Linked DNA regions of Homo sapiens: region 1 is linked to region 2. Evidence: promoter capture Hi-C in human tissues and cell types (Jung and others, 2019). All regions are on one chromosome and are shown on one strand. The core of a region is centred on a gene start or on the middle of the fragment in contact, and the rest is flanking DNA. Distances in the headings are between cores, read along the strand shown. Region 1 overlaps LOC124905022 (a long non-coding RNA gene). Region 2 holds the start of CBS (cystathionine beta-synthase).

Region 1 (6,992 bases), core at 4,059-6,558, 140 kb before region 2:
ATGAAAAAATCCTGTTTAGCTCCAAAAAGGAGAAGGCAGCCCCGCCTGTATGAGTGGAAGCTGCAACCCCTTAAAATTAGTAATTACAAATCCCTTAAACCCAAGGTAGAAAAAAAGAGAACACATATCTCTGGGCATGGATAGAAAAGGACTAGATCCTAGAGTAAATATCGTAGTAAAAGAGGAGGTTCATAAACTCTCTCTAGAACCAGTATTTCAGACTTTCTATGATGAACTAAATGTGCCAGTACCAGAGACTCCAGGAAAAACCAGAAATCATTTTTGCAATTAGCCAAGCATGTAGCCCAGTCTCTAAATGTCACTTCATGTTATGTTTGTGGAGAAACTGTAATAGGAGATCAATGGCCATAAGAAGCCTGAGAATTAGTGCCTACAGACCCAGTTCCTGATGAATTCCCGGCCCAAAAGAAATCACCTTGATCATTTCTAGGTTCTAAAAGTCTCAATTATTAGAAAATATTGCATAGTTTAAAAAAGGAAAGAATTCACTCATTCTGTAGGATGACTTAGTTGCCTTGGACAAAAACTGTATAATGGTACCACAAAAACAGTTACATGTGGAGTTCAAGCCATACAGATAAAAATCCATTCAGTAAATTTCCAAAGTTGCTGACTGTTTGGGCCCCCCCAGAATCCCACTGGGGCTGGAGGCCCCCACTGGGCTATACTAGATATGTAGACATCCAGCCCATGCTAAGCTGCCTGACCAGTGGACAGGTAGTTGTGTTATTGGCACTATTAAACCATCTTTCTTCCTACTGCCCATAAGAACAGGTGAACTCCTGGGCTTCCCTGTCTATGCCTCCTGCAAAAAGTGAAACATAGCCATAGATAATTAAAAAGATGATGAATGGCCTCCTAAAAAAATTATACAATACTCATGATTGTGGGCGCCTGTAGTCCCAGCTACTCAGGAGGCTGAGGCAGGAGAATGGCGTGAACCCGGGAGGCGGAGCTTGCAGTGAGCCGAGATCACACCACTGCACTCCAGCCTGGGTGACAGAGCGAGACTCCGTCTCAAAAAAAAAAAAAAAAAAAATTATACGATACTATAGGCCTGCCACTTAGACATAACACAGGTCATGGGGATACCGGACCCCCATTTACATGCTCAACGAAATCATACAGTTGCAAGCTGTTTTAGAAATCATCACTAATAAAACCGGTCAAGCCTTGACTGTTCTGGCCCAGCAAGAAACTCGGAGAAGAACTGCTATCTATCAAAATACACTGGCTAGCAGCTACTTGCCATCGATCAATAGATCGACTACTTGCTAGCAGGCGAAAGAGAGGTCTACAAGAAATTTAACCTTACTAATTACTGTGTACACATAGATAATTAAAGACAAGTAGTTAAAGACATAGTTAGAAATATGACAAAACTGGCACATGTGCCCTTGCAAGTGTAACACGGATTCGGCCCTGGAGCCAGGTGGTTCCCAGCACTAGAAGGATTTAAAACTCTTATAATAGGAGTTATAATAGTAACAGAAACCTGCTTACTGCTCCCTTATTTGCTACCTGTACCTCTTCAAATGATAAAAAGCTTCATCGCTACCTTAGTTCACCAAAATGCATCAGCACAAGTGTACTATATGAATCACTAGCAATCTATTGTACAATGTAATGCCCAACCTTGTTCTTACTAACCCTGTTCTTAGACTCTCCCTTTCCTTTACTCACCTAGCCTCATTTCCACCTGAATGGACTCTCCCTTAGCTGAGAGAGCCAGACAGACTCCATCTTGGCTCTTTCCCTGGCAGCCCCTTCCTCAAGGACTTAACTTGTGCAAGCTGACTCCCAGCACATCCAAGAATGCAGTTAACTGATAAGATACTGTGGCGAGCTATATCCGCAGTTCCCAGGAATTCGTCTGATTGATAACGCCCAAAGCCAAGACTATCATCTTGTAATAGTCTTAAAGCCCCTGCACCTGGAACTGTTTACTTTCCTGTAACCATTTATCCTTTTAACTTTTTTGCCTACTTTACTTCTGTAAAATTGTTTTAACTAGACCCCCCCTCCCCTTTCTAAACCAAAGTATAAAAGAAAATCTAGCCCCTTCTTCGGGGCCAAGAGAACTTTGAGCATTAGCCATCTCTTGGCCGCAGGCTAAATAAACGGACTCTTAATTCGTCTCAAAGTGTGGCGTTTTCTCTAACTCGCTCAGGTACAACAACAAGAAGACATAAGTGGCAAAGATAAGAGTGAGAACTCCCACTAATAAAAAGTGAGAGTCTCAAAGCAGGGGAATGAGGTAAGAGAGAGACCCTCTCATATTGTTTTATATTGTTCTATACTCAGAAAAAGAGAAGTGAAACTAAAGGCAGGTAGCCCGGCGCCTAGGAAGCAGACCCGAAACCAGGCCTGGGCCTGCCTGACCTAAGCCTGGTAGTTAAAATTCGACCCCTGACCTAGGAACTGATGTTATCTATAGATTCCAGACATTGTGTGGAAGGACATTGTGAAACCTCCCGTTCTGTTCTTTTTCACTCTGACCACCGGTGCTCGCAGCCCCCGTCACATACCCCCTGGCTTGCTCAATCGATCACGACCCTCTCACACGGACCCCCTTAGAGTTGTGAGCCCTTAAAAGGGACAGAAGTTGAGCACTGAGGAGCTCGGATTTTAAGACGCTAGCCTGCCCATGCTCCCAGCTGATTACAGCCACTCCCTTCACTATCTTGGTGTCTGAGGGGTTTTGTCCACAGCTCATCCTGCTAAAACAGCTCACTACAATCTCAAACTCCTGAGCTCCAGTGATTCTCCTGCCTGTGAAAGGAAAACAAATCTTGCCCCTGCCCCCACCCCAAATCACTAAGCTAAAGGGAAAAGTGAAGCTGGAAACTGCTTAGGGCCAACCTGCCTCCCATTCTATTCAAAGTCACCCCTCTGCTCACTGAGGTAAATGCATGTCTGATGGCCTCCTTTGAAAAGACTAATCAGAAACTCAAAAGAATGCAACCATTTGTCTGTCTCCTACCTGTGACCTGCAAGCCCCCTCCCCGCTTCCTGTCTTCCTGCCTTTGCTTCAGGTTGTCCTGCCTTCCAGACCGAACCAATGTACTTCTTACCTATATTGATTGATGTCTCACGTCTCCCTAAAATGTATAAAACCAAACTGTGCCCCGACCACCCTGGGCACGTGTTGTCAGGACCTCCTGAAGCTGTGTCGCGGGTGCGTACTCAACCTTCGCAAAATAAACTTTCTAAATTAACTGAGGCCTGCCTCAAATTTTCAAGGTTCCCGTGCCTTAGCCTCCCGAGTAACTGGGACTACAGGCACGTGCCACCACGCCCGACTAATTTTGTTGTTGTTGAGACAGAGTCTAGCTATATTGCCCAGGCTGGTCTCCAACTGCTGGGCTCAAGTGATCTTCCTGCCTCTGCCTCCCAAAGCGCTGGGATTACAGCCACGAGCCACCATGCCCGGCCTTCTTTTTCTCTTTCCAGCATTGGCTTTGAAATCTTATGAAATCCAAGCGGATGGGAGCCTAAGCTAACGAGTATGTCTTGATGGTTTTAGTTCATCAGAACCCTTGCCAAGACTTTTATTTTTAAATGTACGGCTTAAAATATATCATCCTCGGCCCTGAGCCAATGAGAGGAAGCCAAGGTAAAACACTCTCTTCTCCAGGACATATGGAAAGTCGCTGCTGCCGGAGTAAGGGAGAAATTCTAGAAAGGACGTTCTAGTGCAACAGGCAAAGTTTCATGGCACCGACAGCTATTTTCCAGGAAAGAAGCTTTAAACTATGGAGTTTATGGAAAAAAAGAAAGGGGGGAAAAGACATTTCTGCAAACTGACCTAAGCCCTGGGAATCTGAACCTTCCTATCTGAGGAAAGGGAGGGGGGACTCCGAGGGCCTCTGCAGGACACAGGTGCAATGTTTACCTGCTGCTGTCAGTGAGGATCCTCTGCATGGAGGAGCCCTTCCTTGGCCTGAGTTGTACTTAAAAGCAGGCACTTGTCTTTCATTTTTTTGAGACAGGGTCTCACTCTGTCCCCCAGGCTGGAGTGCAGTGGCGTGACCATGGCTCACTGCAACCTCCACCTCCCGGGTTCAAGCGATTCTCCCACCTCAGCCTCCCAAGTAGATGGGACCACAGGCGTGCACCACCACGCCCAGCTCATTTTTGTATTTTTTGCTAGAGATAGGGTTTCACCATCTTGGCCAGACTGGTCACAAACTCTTGACCTCAAGTGATCTTCCTACCTCAGCTTCCCAAAGTGCTGAGATTTCAGGCGTGAGCCACCGCGCCAGCCCAGGCTGTTGTCTTTCTCATGGCTTTGAGTTTCCACCCTTCCTCCCTTTTCCTTGTGCCACTGAGCACTTTAAAAATCCTAATTGTGTCACCAGACGGGTTGCAAACTAAGGCATCTACTTGCGGGAGTCAGCCTAAGCCAGCTCATGGGGCTTGAAGTTTTCTTTGGTTTTTTGTTTCTTGTTTTTTTTTTTTTTTTTTTTTTTTTTGAGACGGAATTTTGCTCTTATTGCCGAGGCTGGAGTGCAATGGTGCGATCTCAGCTCACTGCAACCTCTGCCTCCCGGGTTCAAGCGATTCTCCTGCTTCAGCCTCCCGAGTAGCTGGGATTACAAGCATGCGCCATCAAGCTTGGCTGATTTTTTTGTATTTTTAGTAGAGATGGGATTTCTCCATGTTGGCCAGGCTGGTCTTGAACTCCCGACCTCAGGTGATCCACCCACCTCGGCCTCCCAAAGTGCTGGGATTGCAGGCGTGAGCCACCGCCCCCGGTCACAGTATTTTTAAGGTGTATTTTCCAGCATCTTTTGATGCTCTTCATACTTTTTTCAACCTTTCAGTTATTTAAGTGCATCATTCTCTTTCCACAATCTCAGCACCCTGAGGGTTTCCGCTTCTCTTCTGCCCCTTTGGTGAATGCTCTATTTATGATTCTTCTTGTAAAACTGAACACGTTGGGTGGCTCTTCCACTCAGCCCAGCTGGAGCTACACTGCCTAGAGGCCAGGGTGATCCTGGGATGTCACAAGCGCAGTGAAGGGACCCTTATGTTACAGGAAAGGGGTCCAGATCCAGACCCCAAAAGAGGGTTCTTAGATCTCGTGCCAAAAAGAATTCAGGGCCAGTCTGTAAAGCGAAACCAAGTTTATTAAGAAAGTAAAGGAATAAGGGAATGGCTACTCCAAAGGCGGAATAGGAATACGACTAGGAAACGGCATGCAGTGCTACTAGATAGTCAAAGTTTCAGATTTTTTAATTTATTGTTGGGATTGGGGTGTCGTTAGAAAAAAGTATGAAAAGAGACGGTTAGCAGTGCAATTGAAGACATGTTAGGTTAATATATAATGTATGAGTCTGTGTAACGGATAGTTTTTATTCATCATAAAATTCTCAAAAGACTCACAGATGTGTGGCCCTTGCAGCTGTTCTTCCCTTGCTAACAGCGTTAGGCTCTGACTCAGAGGAGTTTTGTGCCAAAGAATTCTGGCAGCGTCTACAGTTCTTGTGAAATTCCCAGTGAGGAAATCGTTCACTGTGAGCAGGGGCGATGATGACAAGACGATCCAGGGGATGGGGAAGGAGCCCAGGAAGAAAGAATACAGAGCCCCGGGCATGTGAAATGTATCAGCCTCAAAATTCTTATCTTTCTTTACATCTTTCTATTTACAAAGTCTTGTTTTTGTTTTTGTTTGAGATGGAGTTTCACTCTGTCGCCCAGGCTGGAGTGCAGTGGCACTATCTTGGCTCACCACAACCTCCGCCTCCCAGCTTCAAGCACTTCTCCTGCCTCAGCCTCCCGAGTAGCTGGGATTACAGGCACGCGCCACCACACCTGGCTAATTTTGTATTTTTAGCAGAGATGGGGTTTCTCCATGTTGGTCAGGCTGGTCTCAAACTCCCGACTTCAGGTGATTGCCAGCCTCGGCCTCCCAAAGTGCTGGAATTACAGGTGTGAGCCACCACACCCGACCCTGTTTTTGTTTTTTGACATGCAGTCTCACTGTGTCACCGAAGCTGGAGTGCAATGGTATGATGCTGGCTCACTGCAGCTTCCACCTCCCAGGTTCAAGGGATTCTCCTGCCTCAGCCTCCCCAGTAGCTGGGACTACAGGTGCCCGCCACCACAACCAGCTAATATTTGTATTTTTAGTAGAGATGGGGCTTCACCATGTTGGCCAGGCTGGTCTCAAACTCCTAACCTGAGGTGATCCACCTGCCTTGGCCTCCCAAAGTGCTGAGATTACATGTGTGAGCCACCGCACCCAGCCCAAAGTCTGTTTTTCTTGGCGGGGGTTGGCAGTCAGGGAGCAAATCAGAGTGGCCTATGCACAAAAGGTTGAGAACAGAACTGTGATTTGGAGAGGGAATTCTCCAGCCAGCGTGTCACAAAGCCGCTCACCTGCTCGTGTGAGTGTCTGAATGCACGTGTTTGAGTGTCAGGGGCGTGTGAACCACAGCAACTCAATCTTGAATAGGGGCTGGGTAAAGTGAGGCTGAGACCTCCCGGGGCTGCATTCCCAGATGGTTAAGGCATTCTAAGTCACAAGATGAGATAGGAAGTTCGCACAAGACACTGGTCATAAAGACCTTGCTGATAAAACAGGTTGCAGTAAAGAAGCCGGCTAGGGCCGGGCGCGGTGGCTCATGCCTATAATCCCAGCACTTTGGGAGCCCAAGGCAGGCGGATCACCTGAGGTCAGGAGTTCGAGACCAGCCTGACCAACATGGAGAAACCCTGTCTCTACTAAAAAGTACAAAATTAGCCGGGTGTGGCGGTGCATGCCAGTAGTCCCAGCTACTCGGGAGACTGAAGCAGGAGAATTGCTTGATCCCGGGAGGCGGAGGTTGTGGTGGGCCGAGATCGCACTATTGCACTTCAGCCTGGGCAACAAGAGTGAAACTGTCTCACACACACACAAAAAGTTATAGGTAGGACAATTTCCAGGTATGGTTGTTTTGCAATCAGGGCATCTCAGCGGGTCCACC
Region 2 (7,723 bases), core at 1,836-4,335:
GAAATGAGCCAGACACAAAAGGACAAATACTGTGTGATTCCACTTCCACGATGAGGCACCTGGGACTCTCGAACGCCCCTCTATGTCTGGCAAATTCATAGAGATAGAAAGTAGAATAGAAGCGGCCAGCGGCTGAGGTGAGTGGGGAAGGGAGGGTGATTGTTTAATGGGTGCAGAGGTTGTGCTGGGGATGATGAAAACGTTCTGGGTGGAGATAGTCACGGTGGTTGCCTCACACTTAGAAATGGTTACAGTGATCAGTGTTACGTGTATTTTACCCAGGATTAAAAACACACACACGCACCTGAAATAGATGAGACAGAAAAAAAAAAGAAGAAAGCAAAAAGAAAGCCAGGCGAGGTCCCATCTGCTGCCCCTCCTCTGGGGGGACAAGGAACCCACGACCACCTCCCACCTTGCCTTCTTCAGAGGGCCCAGGACTGGGCTCAGCCCCGCTTCACCCTCCTTTGATTCCCCACATTCAACAGGAAGACTAAGTCCACAGCCGTCACTCACCGGACAGATGGTGCTGACAGTTCAGCACCGCTCAAACTCTGTAAGGAGACGTGACAACAGAATCTGTCATGGGATCCTGGAATAGAAAAGGGCAGTGAGGAGAAAACTCTGCAAATCTGACTCAAGCGCGGACTTTGGTTAATGTCAACAATGGTTATGTGATCGTGGAATTGGCTCATTAATTGTAACAAATAGGCCGGGCGCGGTGGCTCACGCCTGTAATCCCAGCACTTTGGGAGGCCGAGGCGGGCGGATCATGAGGTCAAGAGATCGAGACCATCCTGGCCAACATGGTGAAACCCCGTTTCTACTAAAACTACAAAAATTAGCCAAGCATGGTGGCGCACACCTGTAGTCCCAGCTACTCGGGAAGCTGAGGCAGGAGAATCGCTTGAACCCGGGAGGGGGAGGTCAGTGAGCCGAGATCGCGCCACTGCACTCCAGCCTGGCAACAGAGCGAGACTCCGTCTCAAAAAATAAAAATAAAAATAAAAATAAAAGAAAATAAATAAAGTAACAAATATACGACATCAGTTTAAGATCTTAATAACAGGGGAAACTGGGGGAACTCTATCTATTTTTTCAATTTTTCTAAATCTAAAACTGCTCTTTTTTAAATTTTCGAGACGGAGTCTCCCTCTTGTTGCCCAGGCTGGAGCAGTGGTGCGATCTCGGCTCACTGCAACCTCCACCTCCCGGGTTCAAGCAGTTCTCCTGTCTCAGCCTCCTGAGTAGGATTACAGACGCCCGCCACCACATCCGGCTAATTTTTGTATTTTTAGTAGAGACGAAGTTTCACCATGTTGGCCAGGCTGGTCTCGAACTCCTGACCTCAGGTGATTCGCCCGCCTAGCCTCTCAAAGTGCTGGGATTATAGGAGTGAGCCACCCCGCCCGGCCTAAAACTGCTTTTTTTTTAAAAAGCCTATTAAAAAAGAAAAAGTTGCGGAAGCCGGCTGCCTTTGGAAGCCCTTGGAGTATGCTGTTCAGGTGGTCTCTGCGCACAGGCCCTACCCAGGCCTCAGCTTGGCCTCCTGGACTTCCCAGCCTCCCCTCCACCTTTGCAATTCACCAGACTGGGGGCCAAAGCGGCTTCAAACGACCCTGGAGGGTGGTGCTTTCAAGGTCTTGGGACCACGGACTTGTCTGAAAATCCGAAGGCGTTGGATCTTCTCTTCCCCAGAAAAATGCACCCGCTTTCAGAGGTTCGTGTCCCACGCTTTTCTTTCTATCCCAACCTTGTAAGAAGCCGCCGCCGTGAGCGGAGCAGCACCTTCCTCCGCGGGTCGCGGGAGTCACCTACGGGAAGGGACTCTCCGTCTGGCACAGGCCCTGTCTGGCCTGGGGCGCGCATGCTCCGCCGCCGAATCTTCCAGAAAGCCGTGGACCCGAGGCCCCGGCAGACGCAGGCGGCCCAGCGCCTTGCTTTTGGCCCCTCGCCTCGCCCTGGAGCCCTCTCTCGCAAGGTAAGGGACTGCCGGGAACGCAGATCGCAAGCCGTCGGGGCTCTGTAGAACTCAGAGGCGCTCGGCGGAAAGCTCGCCAGGCGACCCAGACCCGAACCCGCGGGCTCCCCAAGACAACAGCGCCGGGCGGCCGGATGCACGTGCGTCCCGGGAAGGCGGGTTCAGCTGGCATCGCCTGGCCGGTTCCGTTCGCTCCTTAAACCACAAGACCCCCTTGGGGTCACGACGTTCCCGGGGCACCCCTGCACTCGCGCGCCAGCACTCCCGGAGGGGCCTGGGGAAGGCCACGCGCACGGAGAGCGGGAAACTCCTCTAGGTTTCCAGGTGGGAGATCCAGACCCTACTGAGACCCGGAAACCGCCGGCCACTCCGCCTCCGGAAGCGACACTTTGGGACAAAGCTGGGGACAAGTAAGCCCAGAAGATCCTCGGGAAGCCGAGAATTTCGCGCTCCGCTCTCCCACCCACGCTCCGCCTCCCGCTTGCATCCTACAGCTCAGCTGCGGTCTCGCCTGGGGCTCAGGGAAGTGAGGTCCCAGGAAAACCTCCATCCCCCGAACGCAACCTGGGCAGAGCCCCGCGTCCCTCCCCCAGCGGGCACCCACCTCGCGTGCCGCCCGCGCAACGACAGCGTTTACCGCCACCCCACACGGTCCGCCAAAAAGGGCGATTTGCAAACAGCCATTTCCCATCCACAATGCAGCGAACTCAATGCTGGGCACCGAAACGTGCATCTCCCCCGGATTCCCACCCCGCGTCCCTGCTCCACGCTCCAGGACTCGCCGCCAGTGGGGTCCACTCCGCCGGCGCGGGGGCTGGGGTGGGAGCCCGGGGCCACGTGCACGGCCAGCCCCCATCTTCTGGGCGGTCAAGACCGCAGGCGTGGGCGCCGGTGGGGCGGGGGTCTTGGGAGACCCTGTCTCGCCGCCTTTCGGTGCAGATGATGCAACTCTGGGCGGAGGCGCGGAGAGGGAAACCGGGACCCAGTTGAGATCCTCTGTCCAGAGAGGGGAGCGAGTCTCGGTGGGGCCGGATCTCACCTGGACGGATACATGGAAAAGAGGGGCGAGCGGCTGCCCCGACTGCGGCGAGGCGGAGACGGCGACCCCGGGGTGGCGGCCTCGCGGGGACCCACGGCGAGGGGAGCAGGCGGGCGGTGATTGGCGGAGAGGCGGGGGCGGAGGCCGGCGCCGGCCAATGTCTCGTGGCAGAGCACCCGCCCCCCCAGCCCCTCCTCCACCCCACCCAGCCCGGGCCCCTCCCCCCCACCCCTTCCCCACCCCGCCGCAGCCTGGGACCCTCCGGCCTGCCCGACCCCCGCCCTCCCCGGGACCCCGGCATGCCCCCACCCCAGTCCGCCCGCCCCATTCCCACGCCCTGTTGATTCAACCGCAGACCCGGGTCGCCGCCCCCTCCCCCGCCTTCCTCTTCGCCTGAGCCCGCCCGCCCCGGGTTCCAGCCACCCCCACCCGCGGACCCCGGTGGTGTCTTCTACCTGGTGTTCCGATGCTGTTTTACTTGGTTAACTTCTTGCCCTTCGGGAATTTAAGGAACCTTTACTGATGAGCTTGAAACGTGCGTCCTGGTGGGTGGGGGGCCCTGCGCGTCCTCGAGGACCGACCCCGAGGGCGTGTGTCGCGGGCCCGGGAGGGGGCGCCGCGCCGGGGCGGGACTCGATGGCCGCGCTCTGTGGCCGCCGGACGCCGTGCGCAGCGCCCCGCGTGACCGCGCCCAGAGCCGGGTCCGAACCCCGAGCCGAGGCGCAGAACAGTCGCCTTGCGCGGCTCCGGTGCGGCCCACGGCCAGGGGCTGCCGGGCGCTCTCGGGGACGGGGCCGACTCCGCGCAGGGTGGTAGCAGGGGCGCCCCGCGGGGCTCCTTCGCCAGGTCCCGGAGGCCGCGGGCGGGGCCGTTTCCCAAACATCGTGCTCTGGACTTTCAGAGGCTGAACCTGATCCCCCCGCCCTATGGCTAAATGGGGGATCCCAGGCCCCCGAGTCTCCCCCCGGACCTGCAGCGAAAGACACGGACGGTGCCCATCAGCTCTGGGCAGAGGAACGTGCTGCGCCTCCGCAGCGTCCCCGGCTCAGGTCAGAGCGATGCTCCGCAGCCTCCTCCGGCCCGCGCAGCTCCGCCGCGGTCTCTGCCACGTGGGGCTCACAGTAGGGGAGGGAGTGAGACGTGAATTAGAATTAAATGTCCACTGGCAGGAACTGACACGAAGAACAATAAAGCCGGCGATGTGGGGAGGGGACAGGGATGGAGTTACATCATGAAGGCTCTGGAAGGTGGCATTGGAGGCCGGGATCGCGCCACTGTCCTCCAGCCTGTGCGACTGAGCGAGACTGTCTCCAGAAAAAAAAAAAAAAAAAAAAAAAAAAAAAAAAATCCTGTCCAGTCTTTATAAGAAGAGAGACGTGGACACAGACACGCGGAGAGAAAAAGGCCATGTGGAGATGGCGGCAGAGATGAGATGTGCTGCCACCAGACGAGAAATGGCAGGGATGGCTGGCGGCCTCCACAGGGCTGGGAAAGGTGGCCAGGGCCTCCCTCAGAGCCTTCAGCCAGCCTGCGGGAGAGAAAGATGATAAACGGTGTTGTTTTTGTTGTTGTTGTTTGAGACAGAGTCTGTGTCACACAGGCTGGAGTGCAATGGTGAGATCTTGGCTCACTGCAGCCTCAGCCTCCCGGGTTCAAGCGATTCTCCTGCCTCAGCCACCCGAGTAGCTGGGATTACAGGCACGCACCACCATGCCAGGCTAATTTTTGTATTTTTAGTAGAGACGGGGTTTCATCATGTTGACCAAGCTGGTCTCGAACCCCTAACATCAGGTGATCCATCCGCCTCGGCCTCCCAAAAGTGCTAGGCTCACAGGAGTGAGCCACCGCGCCCAGCCCAATGTGTGTTGTTTTAAACCACTCAAGTTTGCAGTAATTTGTTACACAGCCCAAATACTTTTTAATTTTTTAGAAATTTTAACGTAATTTTAGATTAGAAAAGTGGCAAGAACCATACAGAATGTCATATTCCCTCATCCAGATTTTCCAAATATTAATTTTTTTTGCTTCTATTATCAGAAACTCATTGTTATTTCAAATGTTAAGTTTTTACTACATTTGCTCCCTCTCTGTCTCTCCACACACACACACACACACACACACACACACACACGTGTGCAGGTGTGTATGAATCTGTCACTCAGTCTATCTGGTTTCTCTAACTTGTTATTTTGTTTTGTTTTGTTTCTTTTTGAGACAGAATCTTTCTCTGTCACCCACGCTGGAGTGCAGTGGTGTGATTTCAGCTCACTGCAACCTCCCCCCCACGCTGGAGTGCAGTGGTGTGATTTCGGCTCACTGCAACCTCCCTCTCCCGGGTTCAAGCGATTCTTCTGCCTCAGCCTCCCAAGTAGCTGGGATTACGGGTGCCTGCCACCACACCTGGCTATTTTTTGTATTTTTTTTTAAGTAGAGACGGGGTTTCACCATGTTGGACAGGCTGGTCTCGAACTCGTGGCCTCAGGTGATCCACCTGCCTCGGCCTCCCAAAGTGCTGGGATTACAGGGGTAAGCCACTGCAGCCAGCCCACTCTCTAGTTTTAACACTTACTGATGATTTTGTCTGAATTGATTTTTATTAAAATGGTTGCTGAGCTGTGGCTCACACCTGTAATCCCAGCACTTTGGGAGGCTGAGGCGGGCGCATCACGAGGTCAAGAGATTGAGACCATCCTGGCCAACATGGTGAAACCTCGCCTCTACTAAAAATACAAAAATTAGCTGGGCATGGTGGTGCGTGCCTGTAATCCCAGCTACTCGGGAGACTGAGGCAGGAGAATCACTTGAACCAAGGACTCGGAGGTTGCAGTGAGCTGAGATTGTGTCATTGCACTCCAGCCTGGCGACAGAGCAAGACTCCGTCTCAAAAAAAAAAAAAAGTAAATAAATAAGTAAAATAAAATAAAATAAAATGGTTGCTGAATAGTGGTTTTTCTAAGCCCATCACTCCTCCATGTACCATTTGGCATTCCATTATTAGAGTTTTCCTTCTCCCTCATTTATTTATTCACTTAGTTATATCAATGTGAGCCGTAGGTCCTATTTTAAAATGAAAAAGCTACACCTGACCACTGAAAGTGCACGAATGGCCAAGTGGGGTGGCTCACACCTGTAATCCCAGCACTTTGGGAGGCCAAGGTGGGAGGATCACCTGAGGTCCGGAGTTTGAGATCAGCCTGGTCAACATAGCAAAACCCCGTCTCTAGTCTCTACTAAAAATACAAAAACTGGCCAGCGCAATGGCTCACGCCTGTAATCCCAGCACTTTGGGAGGCCAAGGCGGGTGGATCGCCTGAGGTCAGGAGTTCGAGACCACCCTAGCCAACATGGTGAAACCCCGTCTCTACTAAAAATACAAAAAAAAAAGAAAGAAAGAAAGAAAGAAAGAAAAAATACAGCTGGTTGTGGTGGCAGGCACCTGTAATCCCAGCTACTCGGGAGGCTGGAGCAGGAGAATCGCCTGAACTTGGGAGGTGGAGGTTGCAGTGAGCTGAGATCGCGCCACTACACTCCAGCCTGGGCAACAAGAGCGAAACTCCATCTCAAAAAAAAAAAAAAAGAAAAAAAGAAAAAAGAAAAACACATCTCCCCGGCCCTCATCATTTTCTAGCCTCTGCCTCATTTCTGTGTCTGCCTACATGAGAGGAGGCACTGCAGGAGCAGAGCCCCCAGGAGGGCCTGGCCCACCACATTGTACTGGGAAGGAGCTCAGAGCCAGAGATGCAGGAATGCTGGCGTCCTGTGGACAAGGTGGAAGAGCTTCCTTCTAATCACCTCTGTTTCTTCAAAGGAATAGGCCTGACAGCTGGTCAGCAGCAAGTGGACAGCGAGGCCGAGCTGATGGAGGGTTTTGTTGTTGTTACTTTTGTTCAGAGTATAACACGTATGCAGAAAGTGCACATGTCATGAGTGGACAGAGGATAAACCGCTACCCCACTGGGGGGCGAGCAGAGGGGAGAGGCCTGGGCCTGCACCATCCCCTGGTGGCCGGAAGGCTGGGCCCTCAGAACTGGAGGAGATTGGAGGAGGAGGAGGAGGAAGAGGAAGGGAAGGAGGAGGAAGAGGAAGGGAAGGAGGAGGAAGAGGAAGGGAAGGAGGAGAGGTGGGCAGCACTGAGGGCTCCTGCGAATTTCCATTCACAAGTTTCCCAGGCCCCTGGCAGCACGGCTGTGCTTTTCTCTGGCTGCGGTGAGTGGCCCGCGTGGCAGGGCAGGGGAAGAGCGCTGGAGATGGTCGTGTGTGTTTACGAGATTCTCTCTCCCTGCCCAAGTCACGGCAGTGGCGGAAACTTACCCACCCTTTGGATTTGGGCTGAGCCGTGGTTTGCTTCACCCCTTGGGACACACAGCAGAAGGGAGTGTGCCTGTTTGCAGCTGAGACCTCAGGGACAGCGGCCCTGACCTCAACCTGCAGCCCGGGGCCCAGCCCTGCAGAGCCCGGCAGGGGAAGAACAAAATGCCCTTTGCTGGGAGCCACCGGGACTGGGGCTGTTTGCAGGCTGGGTTACGTGTGAGAGTGAAGTTTTGTCTGAGTGTGTTGGTGGGAGACGGCACAGACGGGAGGCTGAGCTGCGTTTGTTTGCAGGGATCTGCGCTGGGTGGGGCGGGAAGGATGGGCAGCAGGCGGCAGGGACAGTGAAAAGCTGGTGGGTCCATGGACAGGCAGCGTCACTGGAGAGAAAGAAC

What was found. Contacts are between HindIII fragments. The study calls those that stand out against the background at their distance.
Region 1: a contact is called between a fragment that was not itself captured here and the fragment with the promoter of CBS in region 2, in 5 of the 25 tissues and cell types used here (adrenal gland, dorsolateral prefrontal cortex, mesenchymal stem cells and 2 more).

Annotation. Positions count from the first base shown.
Region 1 is chr21:42,934,802-42,941,793 of GRCh38, forward strand. LOC124905022 (a long non-coding RNA gene) reads left to right here. Exons shown (of 2, transcript XR_007067881.1): 2 at 1-2,164. Among named protein-coding and RNA genes, the nearest start is that of ERVH48-1, 13 kb to the left of the region's middle. RefSeq lists enhancers at 1,968-2,626, 2,627-3,284, 3,285-3,943. The HindIII fragment of the contact is 5,282 bases long and covers 2,668-6,992 here.
Region 2 is chr21:43,072,750-43,080,472 of GRCh38, forward strand. CBS (cystathionine beta-synthase) reads right to left here and starts at 3,086. Exons shown (of 17, transcript NM_000071.3): 1 at 3,021-3,086; 2 at 517-592. RefSeq lists a silencer at 7,427-7,598. The HindIII fragment of the contact is 35,360 bases long and covers 1-7,723 here.